4 separate regions of the Homo sapiens genome follow, and regions 2, 3 and 4 are each linked to region 1. The links are contacts of gene promoters, found by promoter capture Hi-C in blood cells and fetal thymus (Javierre and others, 2016). All regions are on one chromosome and are shown on one strand. Each heading gives the region's core, a stretch centred on a gene start or on the middle of the fragment in contact. The rest is flanking DNA. Distances are from core to core; before and after follow the strand shown.

Region 1 (3,504 bases), core at 677-3,176:
TCCCAAAGCTACCACTCTGCTGACATCCATAGGTTAGTTTTGCCTCCTTTTTAGTTTTTAATCTTAAAACTTAAAAAAAAGAGATATAACTTACATACAGTGAATTTTACCCTTTATATCGTACAGTTCTATAAGTTTTGATAAAAGTAAACCCCAAACTCAATCAAGATACGGAACAGTTCCACAACTCCCTCAAATTCCCTTGTGCCCTAGGTAGTCAACCCCTCCCCCAACCCCCAGCTCTTGAAAATCACTGATTTGTTTCCTTTACCTATAATTTTATATATTTCAGTGTTTTTTTTTTTTTTTTTTTCAGGGTCTCCCTCTGTCTCCCAGGCTGGAGAACAGTGGCACAATCAGGGCTCACTGCAGCCTCGACCTCCCAGGCTCAAGCGATCCTCCCTCCTCAGGACTCCCTCCAGCTCCCCCACCACGAAATAGCTGGGACTACAGATGAATGATGCAGTATTTTGGGGTGACGGGGTATGGGGGTGGGTGTTTGAACTCTGTCACTCAGTGTTTGTGAGATTCATTCATGATGTTGTGTATAACAGTAGTTCACCTGCATTGCTCTATCAATGTGCCATGATTTATTTATATGAATTGGTATGGATATACTACCAAGTATTTATCCATTGTATTGTCGATGGTCATCTGGGTTGTTTCCAGTTTGAGGCTTTTACAAATAATGCTGCTAGAAATATTCTTGCCCGTGCTTTTTTATGCTTATGGGTATGCATCTTCTTTATGGCTTGGTGATACCAGCGTCAGGAAGATGTGCTCCTATGTTAGTTTCCCTAAGTTTCACGCTACTATGGAAAGAGACCACCATTTCTGCTGTCCTTCCCAGCTTCTCCCCCACCTCCCCTTTTCCCTAGTTTATAAGACAGGAGAAAAGAGAGAAAGCAAAAAGTTGGAAAAAAACAGAAGTAAGATAAATAGCTAGACGACCTTGGCGCCACCACCTGGCCCTGGTGGTTAAAATAATAATAATAATATTAACCCCTGACCAAAACTACTGGCGTTATCCGTAAATTCCAGACATCGTATGAGAAAGCACTGTAAAACTTCTTGTTCTGTTAGCTGATGTATGTAGCCCCCAGTCACGTTCCTCACGCTTACTTGATCTATCATGACCCTTTCACGTAGACAGACCCCTTAGCGTTGTAAGCCCTTAAAATGGCTAGGAATTTCTTTTTCAGGGAGCTCGGCTCTTAAGACGCGAGTCTGCCGACGCTCCCGGCCGAATAAAAACCTCTTCCTTCTTTAATCCGGTGTCTGAGGAGTTTTGTCTGCGGCTCCTCCTGCTACACTACCTTTCGCACTTAGAGATACAATTGATCTGGAGTTCAGAGCTGTGTGTGATGGGAGGTAGGGGGCCAAGTTCCCTTTTTTCTTTTCCCTACGTGGATATCCCTTTGACCGAGCACCATTAACCAAAAATAGTTCCTTCCTGTGCTCTGCAGCCCCGCCTCTGAAATAAATTGTCCATACACGTGTATTTTTGTTTCTGGTCTCTATCTTATGTTCCACTGGTCTTCCTACTTTGCTTTTCTTTTTCAAGATTTTTTTCTGGCTGTTCTTGACCCTCTGAGTTTCTACATAGTCTTCAGGCCCCTATCTGGGTGCACTTCCTGGTATCCCAGCATCTGACATGTGCCTGGCGCGCAGCAGGAACTCACGGCTGGCTGTAGCCTGGATGCATCAGAGACGATGGCAAACCCTTCTCACACGTGCCAGGTTCCAGCAACCCACCCTAGCCCCGCAATTCCTCCTCGCTCACTCCCACCCCCTGCAGCGCACCCGCAAACGGCAAGGAGGCGTGCCCGCCGCGGCGCGCGTCACTTTCCCCCGGACCGACTGGCTCCGCCGCGGCTCTCCCCGCCCCCGCCTCCGCCTCCACGTCTTGGGGCCGGGCCGGAAGGCAGATCTCACCGCCTGCTTCCCTCTGCAGCGGTAGCACAAGCTCAGCGATGGCGGCTCCAGAAGGCAGCGGTCTAGGCGAGGACGCCCGGCTGGACCAGGAGACCGCCCAGTGGCTGCGCTGGGACAAGGTGAGGGGCACCAGCAGGCGGGGAGCGCCTGGAGCGGGGCCGGGTGCTCTGCCCTCTCCAGGCGCGGCGCTGCTTGCTCTGCCTGAGCTGCCTTCCCGCCCAGTGCATCCCGCTTCTCCCCCGGGAAGACCCAGGAGCGTACGGCCGCTGCTAGGCTTCCTTCGACCTGGCCGGCATGCGGCACGTTCAGAGTTAGGCCGGGAAGGCTTGTCCCCGGACGAAACCAGCCATCCGGCCGGCCGGACTGCAAGTTCGGAGTAGAGGAGCGAGCCAGGGTGGTGTAAGCGCGGCCAGACCCTGGACGCTGTCTAGTTGAGGGGCGCACGCCTTACTGTCACTCAGACCGCTGGCTCGTCGTCGGTAGTCGGCTGTGCATCCCCATGGACCCAGAATCGCTCCGTCCCGCGTATTCCTTTGGCCGCTGAGACCTTTGCAGAGCAGCGTTCTGGTCCGGTCCTCCCATCCCGAGGGCTTGGTTACAAACGTGGGTTGTCCTCCCGGGTGGGCCCGCCTGGCTTCAGGAGTCCCCCTTAGAACTTTGACTGCCAGGGAGGCACACCTGGGACACAGCACGGTTTTCTCTCTCTTCATTCCGTTTCTTAGAATCAGGAACCCAGCTCTGGACATCACTCCCTCTCCTCTCTATAAACTTGCGTCTCGCCCTTTCGACCTGTTCTGCTTGCTGTTAGGTTTTCTCGGAATGTCCCTCGCTGCTCTCCTGCTGAACTTGTTTCTCCCGTTGTGACTCATATTTTGTGCCTGAACTTAAATGTGGCTTACGTAGAGAGTCAGTCCTTCCTTGGCTCCGAAGCGTTAAATTATTTATCCCTAATATTCACTCTAAACAGTCTGTTATTTTCCTTTATAGCTCTTACTACAAATGGTAAAAACAAAAAACTCCAAAAACACTTGTTTGTAGGTTTGTTTAATGTCTGTCTCCAGGGCCGACTTCAGGGGCGAGAGACCCCTGCAGTCTCACAGGACTCGCGCTCCTTGAAGGGCCCACTGTTGTTTTAATGTCCTGCTGTCCTGTCTTGAAAGTCTTACTGGTAAAACAAGAGGTCACCCACTTTCATTGTGCACTGGACCTCCATAAATTATGTGGCCAGGCCTCTCTATTCTCACTACCTTGGTTTGTAGTGCCTGGCATAGGCATAGTGCATGACACATAGTAGGTCACTGAAATACTTGAATGAACAAAGAAGATTACAAGGTCAGTAGGGGTCAGGTCTTTGTCTTTATTTACCATTCTCTGGCCCCTACAAATAAAATGTCAGCAAATCCCATTTCCAGGATGCTATTGGCAACTCCTTGGGGGCGTTTTTCTTTTCCTGGGAAGATAACCTTGTGATTCACAAGGGAAGAAAAATGTTTCCATTTCTGATAACTTGTAGCTTGCAGAGTACAGAATTCTTTTGAAGTCAGAGTTCATAATGCACTTTCTCTAAGA
Region 2 (3,504 bases), core at 298-2,797, 960 kb after region 1:
CCATTGATCTGACCAGCTGCCATGGCGGCCACTTCCTCCTTTCTCACCCCATGCCCCTGTCTATGAAGCTTCATGCAGCTGCTGTGGGACACTCTGCTAGGTGCCACAAAGTTCAAGAGACTTTGCCTACATGTATAAATATATTCTTAGGAAAGTTATAAGTTCACAAGAATTGAAATAAAACTCGAAGTGCATCCTATTCCTAATTAATAGCTCAGTGTAGGTGGTCTGGGAGAAAGCTTATCAAGAAACCAAATGCTCACAGGTTGTTAACCATCCTCTTCTTTACAGCAACCACATATGGCCCTCTTTGTCCACTTCTGAAGGAAACGGAATAAGAACTGCATTGTACAAGATCCATCAGATCTGCCCCTACTTTTAAACAGGTAACACAAATGCAGAACTTTTCAACGGGGTAAAGGAGCAACAAATATGCCTTAAATAGCCAAAGGTTTCATCCAGCAGAGGTTAACATACGCTGTGGGGAAATAAGAGCTAGAAAAAACTTGCCACAGTGCATAGGACCGTTCAATCTGAATAGAAGAGCTGACCAGGTTTGATCCGCAATCAGTGAAAAGAAACCCACGCTCTCAAGCATCTGCAAGAAATTCCTCAGATCAATAGCCCCAAGGTCACTAATCATTAATCTAGACAAAATAGTAAATACTAAAAATCTAAATAACCCTACTTCCCTCCCCTCAATATTAGCTCAAATTATCTCCTTTTTAGAAAATACCCATGCAGCCCTTATATCTTTTTAATGAGAGTTACAACAAACAAAGCTAAGGTTCTTACCCCACGGCTTGCACTCTCTCAGCAGAGCTGCAGGTGCGTGGATGATTCGTTGACACGGTCAGAATTGGCTGCAGGAGGGAATTGAATCGAGGTTTTCTGTAAAGCTTAAACCCCATCCGCCCTCTTCTGCATGCTACTGGTATTGCATGTTATATATATTCATTATAATCTTAGCACTTTTTTAAATTGTGGTCAAATACACATAACATAGGAGTTATCATGCTCACCATCTTTCTATTTTTATTTTTATTTTTATTTTTTTTGAGGTAGGGTCTCACTTTGTCACCCAGGCTGGAGTGCAGTGGTGTGATCACTGCTCACTGCAGCCTTGACCTCTTGCGCTAAAGCCCGCAAGAGGCTGGGCTTCTCAGTCCCGCAAATGTCTGGGACTACAGGCGCTCACCAACTGGCCTGGCTAAGTTTTTTGTATTTTTTGTAGAGACGGGGTTTCGCCAGTTGCCCAGGCTGGTCTTGAACTCCTGAGCTCAAGTGATCTGCCTGTCTCGGCCTCCCAAAGTGCTAGGATTACGGTGTGAGCCACCGCGCCTGACCTTAAGCATTTTTAAATGTACAATTTAGTGGCATTAATTAAGTACATTCACACTGTTGTGCAACCACCACCACTGCCCATCTCCAAAGATTTTTCGTCATCCCAAACTGAAATTCTATGCCATTAAAAAATAATTTCCCATTTTCCCCTTCCCTCAGACCCTGGAAACTATAATTCTACTTTCTGTCTGTGTGAATTTGACTACTCTAGGTACCTCATGTCCGTGGAGTTATACCATATTTGGTTTTTTGTGACTGGCTTATTTCATTGAGCATAATGTCTTTAAGGTTCATCCATATCATTTCTATTATTATTACATAGAATAATAGAATCTTTCCTTCCTTTTTTAAGGCTGAATACTATTTTGTTGTATGTACGTCCCACATTTTGTTCATTCATTCATCCATCAATGGACATTTGGGTAGTTTTCACCTTTTGGCTCTTGTGAATAATGCTGCTGTGAACGTGGTGCACAAATATCTATTTAAGTTGGTACTTAACATTCTTTTGAGTCTATACCTAGAAGTGGAATTCACGGATCGTATGACCATTCTGTTTAATTTTTTGCAGAACTACCATACTGGTTTTCCACAGCATCTTAGAGCTCTTTGATGATGCTTTTCTTCAAGGTGCAGGTCGGTTATCCCTTTCATCAGTTGGGTGGGGCAGTCATGTGATGATGGGCAGGAGTAGGAATGGTGACTCCATAATTTCAGCAATCAGGCAGGAAGAGGGTGGAAAGGAGTTATCTAGAGCAGTGGTCCCCAACCCCTGGGCCACAGACAGGTACCAGTTCATGGCCTGTTAGGAACCGAGCCACACAGCAGGAGGTGAGTGGTGGGTAAGCAAATGAAGCTTCATCTGTATTTACAGTCGCTCCCCATCGCTTGCATTACCACCTGAGCTCCACACCCTGTCATATCAGTGGCAGCATTAGATTCTCATAGGAGCTTGGACCCTACTGTGAGCTGCATATGGGAGGGATCTAGGTTGCGTGCTCCTTATGAGAATCTAATGTCTGATGATCTGTCACTGCTTCCCATCATGTCAGATGGGACCATCTAGTTGCAGGAAAACAGGCTCAGGGCTTCCACTGATTCTACATTATGGTGAGTTGTATAATTATTTCATTATATATTACAATGTCATAATAATAGAAATAAAGTGCACAATAAATGTAATGTGCTTGAATCATCCCGAAACCATCTCTCCTCCATCTCCAAACCCGGTCTGTGGAAAAACTGTCTTCCATGAAATTGGTCCTGGTGCCAAAAAGATTGGAGACCTCTGACCTAGAGGCCTTTTCTTGAAGTGAAGTGGTAAAATAAGCATGGTATTTTTTAAAATGTAGATCGCAAAGTACGGATCAATTTTTAAAGCAACATTTTTGAGGTTTTTTTCATACTTGACTTAAGATTTAGGTGACTGCTGGAGATCACGAGTAAAGAAGAAAATTTCCAGATGGATTTGTCTACAGGAGGAATGATCAATTTAAACATGAATGATTATAATAGATTTATGTCTTATAAAATTGGGGAGTGGGTGGGTTCTTAAAATACATTTTTTAACTATCATATTGGGGTTTTTAAATTTAAAATGTAGTCCATGTATTTCCACATATATTGTAGGGGGAAATCACACAAAATATAAATAACTGTAAAAAGAAAAACAACAGCAAAACAAAACCAGCTCTGCTCCTCACCTAAACATATACAAACATGTCTATATTACACAAACGTAGGAAGACAGGAACACCCGTCAGGAACGTTGGAGAGGGGATTCCCAGCTTGTTGGATGAACTAAGCTCTAAAATCTTTTTCATTTCAGAAATTCTCAAATTACTATGATCAGCACACTCACACTGTATATTGCCCTCTCAAGGAAAAATAATCACTTGGGGTTTTTGTTGTCCAAAGACATATTCTTCCTTTCCCCAGAGACCAACATGTTTAAATACTTTATTGTCAGAAAACGGAGAAGTTTTCTTTAAGTGTTTTTACATTTGTTTACCAAAAACAAGTTGAGCCAAGTAGAGTTGTTGCTTGTGTCATCTAATCATCATCATTAAGCTTGCATTTACTTCCTAAGTGCAGATAGTATTGCACACAAGATATTGGCTAATCACCACCACAAACTACATAGAACATATACTTTATTCC
Region 3 (3,504 bases), core at 306-2,805, 900 kb after region 1:
TCCAAAATGTGAGGCCTTGGGAGGGTAAAGCATTTATTCAAGGTGAGCATTTCCTACAGTAAGAGGCAATCTGGCTGCCGGGTCCGTGTTCTTACCCACAGTGCTAGTGATTTTTCTACAGGCACCAGAAGAGCCTCCTCATTCGTGGTTTGGGTTCCCTGGTCACTAGATCCCAGGTGGACAGTGCTAAATTTGGGCATGCCACTCACTGCAGTTTAGTCACACCTTAGTCTCACGATTTGGTTTTTCTGGAGAACCCTAACTAACACAGTACCTACAGGGTGTTCTGTAAATATACATGTTTCATCAATGCATGGATTTGATTTTGGTATTTTGAGTCTCCTCTGGGCATCAGTCTACAACTCATCTTGGGGATGGTTTATACCTGCAAATAGTCCACCTTATTAACTGCTTTCTTCCTAGTTTCTCAGTGAGTGACATTTTCCTGACCTCTTTTCCAGAATCTAGAAGCAATTTTCCAAAGCCCATTTCCTAAAGGAGGCCCTTACACAGAGCAGTATATACCCAATAAGGGTCTTTCCTTTCCTTTCCTTGAACCCTTATCAAATCTTTCTAGTCTTTTTTTTTTTTTTTTTTTTTTTTTGAGATGGAGTTTTGCTCTTGTTACCCAGGCTGGAGTGCAATAACGCGATCTCGGCTCACCGCAACCTCCGCCTCCCGGCTTCAAACTATTCTCCTGCCTCAGCCCCCTGAGTAGCTGGGATTACAGGCACACACCACCACGCCCAGCTAATTTTGTATTTTTAGTAGAGATGGGGTTAGTCAGGCTGGTCTCAAACTCCCTACCTCAGGTGATCCGCCTGCCTTGGCCTCCTAAAGTGCTGGGATTACAGGTGTGAGCCACTGTGCCCAGCCAAATCTTTCTAGTCTTTCAAGGGTAAACTGATACACAGCTCTCCAGTTTCTTTATTTGTGTCATTTCATTTAATCGTTCATTTTATTTTATTTTATTTTTTGAGATAAGATCTGGCTCTATCACCCAGGCTGGAGTTCAGTGGCACAATCTCAACTCACTGCAACCTCTGCCTCCCGGGCTCAAGCCATCCTCCCACCTCAGCCTTCTGAGCAGCTGGGACTACAGGTGCACACCACCATACCCAGCTAATTTTTGCATTTTTTGTAGAGACAGAGTCTTGCCATGTTACCCACGCTGGTCTCCAACTCGTGAGCTCATAAGATTTGCCTGCCTCAGCCTTCCAAAGTGCTGGGATTAAAGGCGTGAGCCACCATGCCTGGCCTTCACAGTTCTTTTTTTTTTTTTTTTTTTTGAGACTAAGTCTCGCTCTGTCTCCCAGGCTGGAGTGCAGTGGCGCGATCTCAGCTCACTGCAAGCTCCGCCTCCCAGGTTCACGCCATTCTCCTGCCTCAGCCTCCCGAGTAGCTGGGACTACAGGAATCGGCCACCACGCCCGGCTAATTTTTTGTATTTTTAGTAGAGACGGAGTTTCACCATGTTAGCCAGGATGATCTCGATCTCCTGACCTCGTGATCTACCCACCTCAGCCTCCCAAAGTGCTGGGATTACAGGCGTGAGCCACCGCGCCCAGCCCACAGTTCATTTTAAACTTCAATCTAGAAATGGGAATCTCAAGCAAAAGAAGGTGGATGTTTTTATTTAAGGCCCTCAAAGGAGATAAGGAAGTTCAAGAAATTTTCCAAATGGAGTTGCAAGCAGAGAGAATCATGGAGACTTACAAAGGTGCTCGATCTTAACAGGAGCTGTTATTTGTTTGCAGATTTGCCTGGGATCTTCTTGTGGGCCTACATACTCCCCATTGTCACTGCAATAGAGCCAGGATCCAGCCCAGTGCCTGGTCAGAAGAAGCTCCATTAGTGCTTAAGAACTGTATTCAATTGGAACTTTCAACCAATTCAATATGGTCACAACGGGTTGGCTCCTAGTAAGCTGCTCAGTAAGTGTTTCTTCAGGTGACGTTGGCAAATGAAAGGCAGTAAGGCCCAGTGATTTCAGATCCAGACTGTGGTACTCAGAACCATATAATCCTGGGGTCAAATCTCAGCCTTGCTTGCTTCTTTCTGCGTGCCCTGAGCCTCTCCCCTGTAGAGAACCTATTTCACATTGTTGCTATGAAAATGACATGAGATCATGAATGTGAAATTTATCATAGTATTGCTCATACTACTACCTTGGGCTGGGAACTATTCCTGGGCTTTCTCATTTAATCCTCTTGCAATTCAAAGAGGAAGGCGCTCTTAACTGCCCCACTTCTTACAGATTAAGAAGTTGAGGAACAAGGGCTGGAGCGGTGTCTCCAAGGTCACGAAGCTAGTAAGAGTGGGTATAGATCGCAGATGCAGTGGCTGGTCTTAACCGTTAAGGGAGAGCTACGAAGTCCCACGTGTGGACAGTAAGTACTCAGTAAAAGTACACTGTTACTGTTACTGCTGCTGCCATTGTGCTGGACAGCCGGGGAAAGTGAGGGGCAGAGAACTTGAGTCCCCATAGCTACTCCATAACAGAGCCAGAACCACGGGTGGCTCCAACATTCAGATCTGGGGTACCAAGCCTTGTTGCTTGTTTCTTAACTGCTTTCTCCAAGGCCTGCCCTGGGCAGCCACACCCAGAGTTCTCACGACACCCTGGAGCTCTTGCCACCCAGAAGTTCTTGCCACACCCTGCCTGCTCCCGGAAGGTAACAGGGCCACTGAAGAAGGGCTGCATTGTTGTGGCCTTAGCCTTGGCCCTGAAGGCCAGGAGGACAAACACTTTGGCTTGTAAGTACTGCAAATCAATAAACAGTAAAACTCAGAATAAATGCCCTCTTGAACTTCAACTGACCTCAACTCCAAGCTGGCTGGTCCTGAGGACAAATACCCAGGAACGTGATTCCAGGAGAGAATACTTCTGCATGGCATCCAGTTGCTACCTGGCAGGAGGGTGTTTGCCTTTGAGAGAGGTGGGGGCAGGGGTATCAAATTCTCCTGGGGAAGACAGGAAGTTTGCCAGCGCCACCCAGAGCAGAAAAAAAGTGTGGCAGTATCAATAAAGATGACAATAGCAAGAGATCTCCTTTTTTCCTCAGAGTCCTGGCCTGCATGAATAGGTGAAATCACAACAGCTAAGATTCAGTGAGTGCTTCCTGTGTAGGCCACGTGCTGCACTTAGGACCACACGCATGGGTTCGTTGAATGCACTCAACAACCCTATGGCATGGATTTTATTATTTTCATTTTTCAGGTGAGAAAACCATGGTACAGAGAAAAGTAAATCGCTTCCCCAGGGGCTGCTCGGCCCCCAGGAGGCAGAACCAGAGTCTGAACCCAAGCGATCTTTTACGGCCCTCCCCTGCAAGCTGGCAACGGAGTATTTCCCTTTATGGTCCCTCTCATTTAATTTTGAATCAGATGTCTTATGCCAAAGTATATACAGAAAGGACACCACTTTGGAAGGTATCTTTGTCCATTCTGGCTACTATAACAAAATACCATAAACTGGGTGTCTTTTTTTTTTTTTTTTTTTTT
Region 4 (3,504 bases), core at 465-2,964, 840 kb after region 1:
TCACATTTCACTTATGATGTTTACTGTATGTGGCAGCTCTTATTTGTAAATAGGGCAGGTCCCCTGTATAAAGCTGGTGTTATTATTCACACCCGTAGAACAAACACCTCCACCCCCCTGTTGTTGTCTTAAAAAACTCCAGCTGCTCATGAATATAGGGTCAGGGAGGGCCGGCTAAATGTTTCTCTGTGCTTTCTCTCCAGCACAGCCAGCAGAGCTGTTTCCTGTTCTTTGTTTCAAGGCTGGGGTTTGCGTCATACATTCCAAGTGGCATATGTGTGCTCTTTCCTGTTTCAGGCTGTTTTCTGGTAGATCAGTAGCCCAGACCAGGCTGAGGTCCCTGCCCCTAAACTCCGTATCCCCACCCATGGAGTTATCATGTCTCTACACACTTGATATTGCTTAAGACGCCTGTGTTATGTCATAATGAGAAGTCAGTTAACCTTTTTACGTACACCCTTTGCTCCACTGCATTTGTCTGGGTGAATAAATGCTTTTACCTTTTTAAATTTTTTATTGCTAGATTGTGATTTGGGGAAACGTGGGTCCATCCTGGCAAAGAAACCTAAAGGAGTTTTGTTTGTATTTGTTTGTAATTCTTGTGTTGAAGTGGTTAGGGCGTTTGTTTTAAGATAGGCATTTTGCCCTGAAGCTGTCAATTTTGGATCAGGATTAACACCTTACAGTTTAGAAGACCTAGCATTATCTGAAAGATGTGGCCCACCCTCGTTCACGTTTAACCCAGGCTGCTCCAGGTGGCTTCCGTGGATGGAGAATTTAAGCAATGTTGGCAGCCTGGCTTTAGTTTAAGTCTTGCTTATGTTTGGAAGGAGAAATCTTTAGAAAAATCATTGAAGCAAAGCCTAAGACATTGAGAAAATCCCGGGATTATTTCTTTTTAAGGACAAAGATTTAAATATCAGGATAATGTTTTAAGGACAAAGATTTCACTGTGCAATATTCTACACCTCATTTCCAACCCGTTTTTAAGAATTAAAAAGCTCAAAGGAGAACTGGCATTAACAAATTCATTTAATGCTAGATTGTTTGGAAAATTTTAATCTTCTATTTTGAAAACAAGAAGAATGCTCTTCTCATTTTTGTTTTACAATAATATTTTTCATTTTTTAAAAATATTCTATCAGTTGTGGGTTAATGAATTTCTAGGATAACTATTTAAGACCTGCCTTAATATTAGTTTTCTGTTGGTTCTTGAGAAACTAAGATTTAAGGAAATATTTGCTTGAAAAAGAAAAGTTTTGGAAAGTGCTTTTGTAAACTTACTTGGGGATTTTTTTTTTTTAATCAAAAGGAATCATCTACAGCATCTCTGTGGAATTAATTTAAAGAGTTGCTGAAGCAGCAAATCAGGCTCTCTTCTCCCCAAAATTGATGATAATGGTGCGTTTTAAATGTCACATTCCACCACATTCTTTATGTATAAATGGAAAATATAAAATATGATATTAAGAGAGTTATTAGTATCAAATAGTTGGCTACTGATAACCTTCTATGAAAAAAGCTGGGAGTTTTAGAAGTCCCAATAACTTCTTTCTCCTTTGGGAAAAGCAGCTGGAAATACTTAGCTGACCTGTAGGACAAGAGACTTTTAAGCTTAAAATTCATAAGTAACTCCAATCGAAGCAGGTTTTTTTGTTTGTTTTGGTTCCAAAGTTGTTAACAATCTAACTAGGTTTGGTAAACAGAGTCTTTATTTGGCTTTCCCCAAATTCTTTCTTCTCTCTTTTGCAGGGAGATGAAGTGGTTAATAGAGATAATTAGGGTCTAATATATTCTATCAGAAAAAAATTCTGCAAGCTTCTAAATGCTAAGCTGAATAGTTGGGGAAAATTATCCTATCTTATAGTTGCTATGATTACCAGAAAGATGGGAACAAGAGTTTTAATTTCTTAACCATATAAATCATGATTCCTAATTTAATTTCATTGTGTCTCCATCGCCCCTTGAGATACTTGCCTTCTTAATATTTTCAAATCAACATTTTTGCTATAAAACGACAGATTTCTTAGGCAGCATTTCTTGTTCTCTGTTTTCACACCCAGTTGAGTTTAAGAAAAATAAAATACACACAACCTCATTCTTTAAGGTACTAGGAATTACAATTACATTATTCTGGAACTTGGATTCTTTCTGAAGTGCATCATTTATCATTGGTTCTAGCTTTTTAAAAAAGCAAATCCCTAGAATCTTAAAACAATTGATATCTAGTTTGCTAGTATGTGATATTCTAGTCAGAATTCCTCTTGGGAGTGAGTTGGAAGAGGGTTATGGTGGTCGCTAGCATTCTCATTTTCAAGACCACTCTGTTCCTTTCTTAGACCATGTTTCTCATCTTAAGCAGTCATGCCCGAGCTGGAGACAGGAAACCAGACAGCAGTCTGCCCTGATAAGGGACAGCATTGTCTGAAGGCGGGGAATAGCCCTGCTTTTACCCCCAACTCAGCTCTCTTTGCTTGAAATTTAGTAGTCATAGAAGAGGCACAATGCTGTTGACAGTTTCTGAACCAAAACTAGGATTCATTTCTTCCAAAGCAAAAAAATAGTGTCCTCGGCCGGGCGCGGTGGCTCACACCTGTAATTTCAGCACTTTGGGAGGCCGAAGTGGGTGGATCACCTGAGGTCAGGAGTTCGAGACCAGCCTAGCCAACATGGCAAAACCCCATCTTTACTAAAAGTACAAAAATTATCCGGGCGTGGTGGTGGGCGCCTGTAATCCCAGCTACTCAGGAGGCTGAGGCAGGAGAATTGCCTGAACCTGGGAGGTGGAGGTTGCAGTGAGCCGAGATTGTGCCACTGCACTGCAGCCTGGGCAACAAGAGTGAGACTCTGTCTCAAAAAAAAAAAAAAAAAAAAAAAAAAAAAAGATGTCCTCTTAACTGGCCTTGTCCTTATTCTGTAATGAATGTGACCATATTCTCTGGAACAGTAAGAAAATAAAAAAATGATCTGTGCATTTTGTATCCGTTGGCCAGAGAGTTTGTAGTAAAATTGTTTCTTTAGCAAAACAGGCTCCTGGAGGTTTTTGAAACTCACTCCATTGTGTCGGCAGGCTGAATTCATTATCATTTCTCCATCTAATTATTTAGAAGGGCTGGAGACAGAAGAGAGCAAGTTAAGTGGCCCTCTAGCCCATGCATTTCATGTAACCCCTGGGTCTGGCTCTTACCCTGTTTCCTGTAAGGGGGCGCTCCCTGAGGCAGACCCTTTGCAGGAGGACCCAGAATTGCCCTGCTTAGTCTGGGACATCCTCAGGATGGTTGCCAGTCTCTGGAAGGCTTGTGGATCCTGCCAGGGATGGCCCAGAGCTAGTCTCAACCCAAATCAGTGGAGTTTGGCCAAATCTGGACATAAGAGATCAAATGAGTATTGAGGTCAGCGGATTCTGCCCTGGAGAGCGACCTGCAAATCAAGTGTGGGGTTTTTTCTCTGGCCTATATGCTGTTCTTTCTACTACCACTGTTGTTTAAGTGTAATCACTGAAAT

What was found. Contacts are between HindIII fragments. The CHiCAGO score rates a contact against its expected background, and 5 or more counts as called.
Region 2: a contact is called between a fragment that was not itself captured here and the fragment with the promoter of PGM2 in region 1, in 1 of 17 cell types (activated CD4 T cells). The highest score is 5.7, in activated CD4 T cells.
Region 3: a fragment that was not itself captured here is called in contact with the fragment with the promoter of PGM2 in region 1 in 1 of 17 cell types (fetal thymus); the score reaches 6.1 in fetal thymus.
Region 4: a fragment that was not itself captured here is called in contact with the fragment with the promoter of PGM2 in region 1 in 1 of 17 cell types (fetal thymus); the score reaches 6.2 in fetal thymus.

The regions. Positions count from the first base shown.
Region 1 is chr4:37,824,760-37,828,263 of GRCh38, forward strand. It overlaps PGM2 (phosphoglucomutase 2), which reads left to right and starts at 1,927. Exons shown (of 14, transcript NM_018290.4): 1 at 1,927-2,054. The coding sequence starts at 1,974. RefSeq lists enhancers at 396-565, 1,598-2,099, 2,100-2,599 and a silencer at 1,810-2,109. The HindIII fragment of the contact is 6,567 bases long and covers 1-3,504 here.
Region 2 is chr4:38,782,126-38,785,629 of GRCh38, forward strand. It overlaps TLR10 (toll like receptor 10), which reads right to left and starts at 865. Exons shown (of 4, transcript NM_030956.4): 1 at 796-865. RefSeq lists an enhancer at 17-186. The HindIII fragment of the contact is 1,301 bases long and covers 898-2,198 here.
Region 3 is chr4:38,726,081-38,729,584 of GRCh38, forward strand. No RefSeq gene overlaps it. Among named protein-coding and RNA genes, the nearest start is that of TLR10, 55 kb to the right of the region's middle. The HindIII fragment of the contact is 6,828 bases long and covers 1-3,504 here.
Region 4 is chr4:38,667,040-38,670,543 of GRCh38, forward strand. The region is part of intron 1 of KLF3 (KLF transcription factor 3); the gene reads left to right. Among named protein-coding and RNA genes, the nearest start is that of KLF3-AS1, 3.9 kb to the left of the region's middle. RefSeq lists enhancers at 1-234, 235-1,084, 274-323, 2,731-3,300. The HindIII fragment of the contact is 204 bases long and covers 1,613-1,816 here.